Linked DNA regions of Homo sapiens: region 1 is linked to region 2. Evidence: promoter capture Hi-C in 16 types of primary human blood cells and fetal thymus (Javierre and others, 2016). All regions are on one chromosome and are shown on one strand. The core of a region is centred on a gene start or on the middle of the fragment in contact, and the rest is flanking DNA. Distances in the headings are between cores, read along the strand shown.

Region 1 (2,724 bases), core at 146-2,645, 1.1 Mb before region 2:
CACTAACCTAGAAGCCCCAGCAGAAGTGAGGACCATGTTTCCTTGTGCATGCCACTGTAAACCCAGGGCCCAGTCCAGAATGAGGGCTCAACAGATGTTTATAGAAGGAGTGAAGATTTAGAGAAATCGAAAAAATTTTAGATCTTACAAGGCCCTTGCATCTAAACACTCCTCCAATTATGGCTAAAAAATGAGGAGCTATAGAAAACTGTCCTATTTAAATTTTGTTTCTAAAAACATTCATTTTGGCTTCTTTTAAAAAAGTTACTCAATTACTGAACAGATCACTGGTGTGGCCTGTTGAACACAGTGCTGTAACTTCCTGCACAAGAGACAAGTCTGAAAGTTTTGCTTTCCGCTGTGAAAGCATTGGTGACTGCTTGACAGACTCGCTTGAAGCAAATAATGTGTTTTTGGTTAAAAAAAAAAAGTATAAACGCCTAATAACAAAATAGGCATATTTTTGGCTAGAATTTTTTTTTCCAAGGAAAAACCTCCAGCTCATTTTGCTGCCTAAGCCAAAACAGATGCTCCCACTAAGTTGGTGGTGGAACAGACCCAAAGATTCCAATAATGACATATATAACGTGTGTCAACAAGAAAACAAGTGTAAAATCTGCAAACGAGTCCCCAGCTAAGGCGAAATCTTGACAACGCTACTCTGAGGTGAGCGATCCCCTCCCTCCTCCGGGGTTAGGAGTGGCCCAGGAGAGGCGGCGGTGACACGCGCTCTGCGGCCCGGCCGTGTCCCTCTCGGCGCCCCGGGACCCCGCGTGTGGAGAAGGAGAGGCCCGGCGGAGGGAAGTGGCCGGGGAGGACCCTACCTGCCAGCCTCCGGCGCTCAGGGTACGCCAGCCCCAGGAGCTTCCGGGCCTCCGGGAGTCCGGCCGCTGCGGGGCGCAGCCGCCCCTTGTCCCCGGGAGGCGCCGCCGGCCCGCGCCGCCAGGCCTCGTCCCCTGCCCAGGCAGCGGCTGCGGGACCGCCCGGGAACCGGGCGCGCGGGAGCCGAGGAGCGCCTGGCCCGGCAAAAGCCCCGCACCTGCAGCTGCCGGGGCCGCGAGCCCACAGCCCCAGGAGCCGCGCGAGGCCCAGGACGCCCCGCGAGGCGCCCGGACCCCCGCCCCGGCAGCCGCTCCTCCAGCGGCGCGCGGCTCCAACGCCCCAGAGCAGCGCGGGCCCCGCGCCCCATAGCCGCGCCGGCCTCAGGCCAGTGAACGGCGATAGGGACCCGGGAACGCGGCTGGCCGCGGCCCACACGCAGGCTACCGGCAGGAGCCGACCTGGCTCGGCAGGGCTCGGTGGCTCGAGCAGCCGCAGCGGCCAGGCAGGGGGGCCTCGCATGGCGCTGCGTGCGACCCGTACGCCTCAGCCCGCCGGCCAGGCGCGCGCAAAGCCCGAGGACCCTCCCGGCCCGGCCCCGAGCAAAGGGCGTGGACGCGGTGGCGCCCGCCCCTCCCCGCTGGCTGTCACCCGCCTTATCGTGCCTGCACCCTCGGGCTGCGCCCGCCCCCGCCCCATCCTCGTCCGCGCGGTGCCGCGCCTCTCCGCCCCACTCCGGGGACTGCAGCTACCCGGACCTTGCAAGCCACCCTTCCGAGCGCCCCCAACCCGCTCGGGTGCCCTCCCTGCAGCGCCCCCAACTGCCCGCTGGCGGAGGAGCGCCGGGCGCGCCAGCTGGGACGAGGCCCGGGAAGCCCAGGAGCACGGCTGCGCCTGCGTACTGGGCGCAGGGAACTTTTTCGCGCTTCGCCGTCCCCTCTGGTCTGAACTTGGGAACGACACGAGCTCTTTCTCACGCCGGCAGACCGGGCGGAGCGCGCAGACGCGACCACACGATGGCCGGCACAAAGATGGGGCGGGAGGACAGCGTGCTGGATACGGCGTGGGGCGGGTCCGCGGCCCGGGAGACCCATGCTGGGGCGGCCCTGTCACTCGTCTCGCTGCCAAGCACAGGGCTGAGGTGCGGAGGGACCACTGAGAGGACTTCGCTGCGTGTCAGCTCAGCTCTGGACGGCGTGGAGGAGGTGGTTGGCGAATAGTGAAATGTATATAACTTTGAGAAGGGAAGAGATCGTTTCTTTTTTTTCTTTTTTTTTTTTTTCTTGAGACGATCTCGGCTCACTGCAACCTCTGCCTCCCAGGTTCAAGTGATTCTCCCTTCTCAGCCTCCCAAGTAGCTGGGATTACAGGCATACGCCACCACACCCGGCTGATTTTGTATTTTTAGTAGAGACGGGGTTTTACCATGTTGGTCAGGCTCTTTTCGAACTCCTGACCTCAGGTGATCCGCCCGCGTCAGCCTCCCAAAGTGCTGGGATTGCAGGCGTGAGCCACCGTGCCCGGCCTGAGATCGTTTCTTAACTAGAGCAGAAATTTGAAGACAGGCGTGGTCGAGGCATTCCCGCTGTTCGAAGTGGAAAACACTAATCAGAAGGCAATGCATCTTAATACACGTGCATGGAAAGACAGGAGAGAACATTAAAACTCACTGGGACACTTTATGGAGACTTCATGGGGGCGGGGGGGGATATGTACCTGAGGTCCAGTGAGTCGTGGGTAGATTTTTGTAGACTCCTAGGTATTTTTACTGGACCTGGACAGGGTACTGTCAGTTGCAAATTTTATGGGTTCACAAAATAAAAAAACCTCAATAATCAACATAAACATTTTAGTGCAATATTTTTAAAAATCAAAATTAATTTAAAAAATCCGTAATGAACAAAA
Region 2 (2,700 bases), core at 42-2,541:
ACGTGTGAGAAAGTTGGGATATGACATTTGCATTGGGAGATTTGAGATTGCTTGAAAATCCAGATTTAAAGTTGCTTGAAATCCACTCTCTTCTGTTATTACCTCTCTTCTGGTATTACGTCTCTTCTGGTGTTGATGGGAAACTGTGTTTAGGTTGCCATAGATCATGAGGGCATGCTAGTGCAGTGGTAGCAATTGTTCAGTCAGTGGGCATTCCATGATCACCTGCTGTGTGCAGGTTTCAATGGGCCTTGTATACTGTACTGACGGATTTGCACTTGATTTAGTATTCATTGTGGAGTTACAGTCAGGTTAAAAGCAGGAAATGACATGATCATGTATGTTGCAGTTGGAACTGACTGGTGGCGGGAGGCTACTTAAAAAGTTATTTCAGTGGTTTTTATGAGATCTGAGAAATACAGGAGGGGATAGTTTGTGGAAAATATTACGTAAATGATCAAAAAGCAGGAGTGGCAGATGAACGAATCACTTGAGGGGTCAAAGGTGGTAATGGCATGATACTGTTGACTTCGTCAGCTTAATAAAATATACACACTGAGCAACATAGTGAGAATGCATTTCTACAAAATATTGAAAAATTAGCCAGGTGTGGTGGCACATACCTGTAGTCCCAGCTACTTGGGAGGCTGAGGTGGGAGGATTACCTGAGCCTGTGGAGGTCAAGGCTGCAGTGAGCCAGGATTGCAGCACTGCACTTCAGCCTGGGCAACAGAAAGAGACCCTGTCAAAAAAAAAAAAAAAAAAAAAAAGAAAATGTACAAACACTCTTAGAGAGGGTTGACAATCAGTAGATGAATTAGGATGTAAGATACTGGTAGTAGGAGAGAGGTGGTAGGCTAACAGGGATAACTTAAACCCACTTAACCTAGGTATGCTGTGGCAATCATATCCTTCTGTCTCACGTATGACTTCATGTGTTTTACAGAAAAAATAGAGGCCATCAAGCGGTAGCTCCTTCATCTTGCTGACAGCAACCTCGTTCTTGCATTTGTACCTGTTCTCACTCCCATCATTAACCTGTTGTGTAGGGCAATGGTCCCCAACCTTTTTGACACTTTTGGAAGACAATTTTTCCATGGACCAGGAGTGCAGGGGATGGTTTTGGGGTGATTCAAGCGCATTACATTTATTGTACACTTTATTTCTATAATTATTACATTGTAATACATAATGAAATAGTTATAAAATTCACCGTAATGTAGAATCAGTGGGAGCTCTGACCTTGTTTTCTTGCAACTAGACAGTCCTGTCTGGGGGGTGATGGGAGACACTGACAGATCATTCAGCATTAGGTTTTCATAAGGAGTGCCTAACCTAGATCCCTCGCATGTGCAGTTCACAGTAGGGTCCATGCTCCTATGAGAATCTAGTGCTGCCACTGATCTGACAGGAGGCGGAGCTCCAATACAGAGTGGCTGTGAATACAGGCTGCGCTCCTCCTGCTGGGCCACCCGGTTCCCCACAGGTAGTTGGGGACGCTGGTGTAGGGGTCTTTCCTTCCTCCTGAGGTCTGCCTCCCATGCCTGGATCCGGTGCCCTCTCCCTTCTCAGGACCCTGTTATTCCCACCCTCTCCACACTTCTTCCCATTGGCTTTCAGACACACTCCTATTTTAGTTTCTTCTACTGGACCCTCCAACCTCCAGTTAAAGCCCATCGCTCTCTTCCATCTCACAGCCAAATGCTCACAGCCAAATGTTGTCTTTACTTTCTCTCCCTTCACTCTTAAATTCACTTCACTCTGGTTTCTGGCCCCATCATTCCACTAAAGACTTCTCACCAAAGTTAACTAGATGGAAGTCGATCCACCAGACCTTCTCTGCTTCCTTCCCTGACCTCAGTAGATCAAATGCTCCCTTCATTTGCTTTCTGAAACCTGGTGCTTTCTGGTTATCTTTTGGCCTCTCTGGTCTCCTTGTCTCTTTTGCATAATCATTCTCCTCCTAGCCATTAATTGGTGGGTTATGGACTCAGCCACGTGTCTGTTCCTTTTCACATGCTGTGCACTTTCCGCAGGTGACCCACTTCATGCAGCTTCAATGACCACGTGTAGACAGGTGAAAGGTTCATACTTCTGGCCCAAATACCTTCTTATCTGCAACCCCATGTGCACAGCGCCTTGACATCTCTTCTTGGCTATCTCTGTGGCACCTCAAACTCGGCATATTTAAAACTGAATTTGTTGGGGGAAGATGAAAAAAACCAACCTTCTCTCAAACTTGGCTCTCTTCTGGTATTACCTATCTCAGGTAATACTAGACCTGAGGTAATCCATCCATCTGGTTGTGAGTCAGATGTTATCAAGGAGTCATCCTTGATAACACCTCTCTCCTTCACATTCTTGAAATCCAACCTGTTACTAAGCCTTAGGATTTCACTTCCCAAATATCTCTGAAATTTGTCTACTTCTCTCCATCTCCTCTTTTCCCACTTTCTGACTCATCATTATCTCTGGCCATTATAATCTAGTGGCTTCTTACTGTAGTCCCCTGGCATCCATTCTTGCCTTTTTCTAGTCCGTGTTCTACATCACAGGCAGGGTGCCCTTTTCAAAACGCATCTCGGTGCTTGTATGTAACAGGTGCTTGTATGTAATCAGACTGCCACCTGTATACACCATGAAAACATGAGAAAGCATTTTCCAGAACACTTGGAAGTATTCCAGAGCAGCTTATTGCAC

The links. Contacts are between HindIII fragments. The CHiCAGO score rates a contact against its expected background, and 5 or more counts as called.
Region 1: a contact is called between the fragment with the promoter of ABCB10 here and a fragment that was not itself captured in region 2, in 1 of 17 cell types (total B cells). The highest score is 5.6, in total B cells.

The regions. Positions count from the first base shown.
Region 1 is chr1:229,557,312-229,560,035 of GRCh38, forward strand. ABCB10 (ATP binding cassette subfamily B member 10) reads right to left here and starts at 1,396. Exons shown (of 13, transcript NM_012089.3): 1 at 825-1,396. The coding sequence starts at 1,341. RefSeq lists silencers at 606-1,055, 1,116-1,815 and an enhancer at 1,986-2,175. The HindIII fragment of the contact is 4,467 bases long and covers 1-2,724 here.
Region 2 is chr1:230,644,487-230,647,186 of GRCh38, forward strand. All of the region lies in intron 1 of COG2 (component of oligomeric golgi complex 2), which reads left to right. Among named protein-coding and RNA genes, the nearest start is that of COG2, 3.4 kb to the left of the region's middle. The HindIII fragment of the contact is 5,232 bases long and covers 1-2,700 here.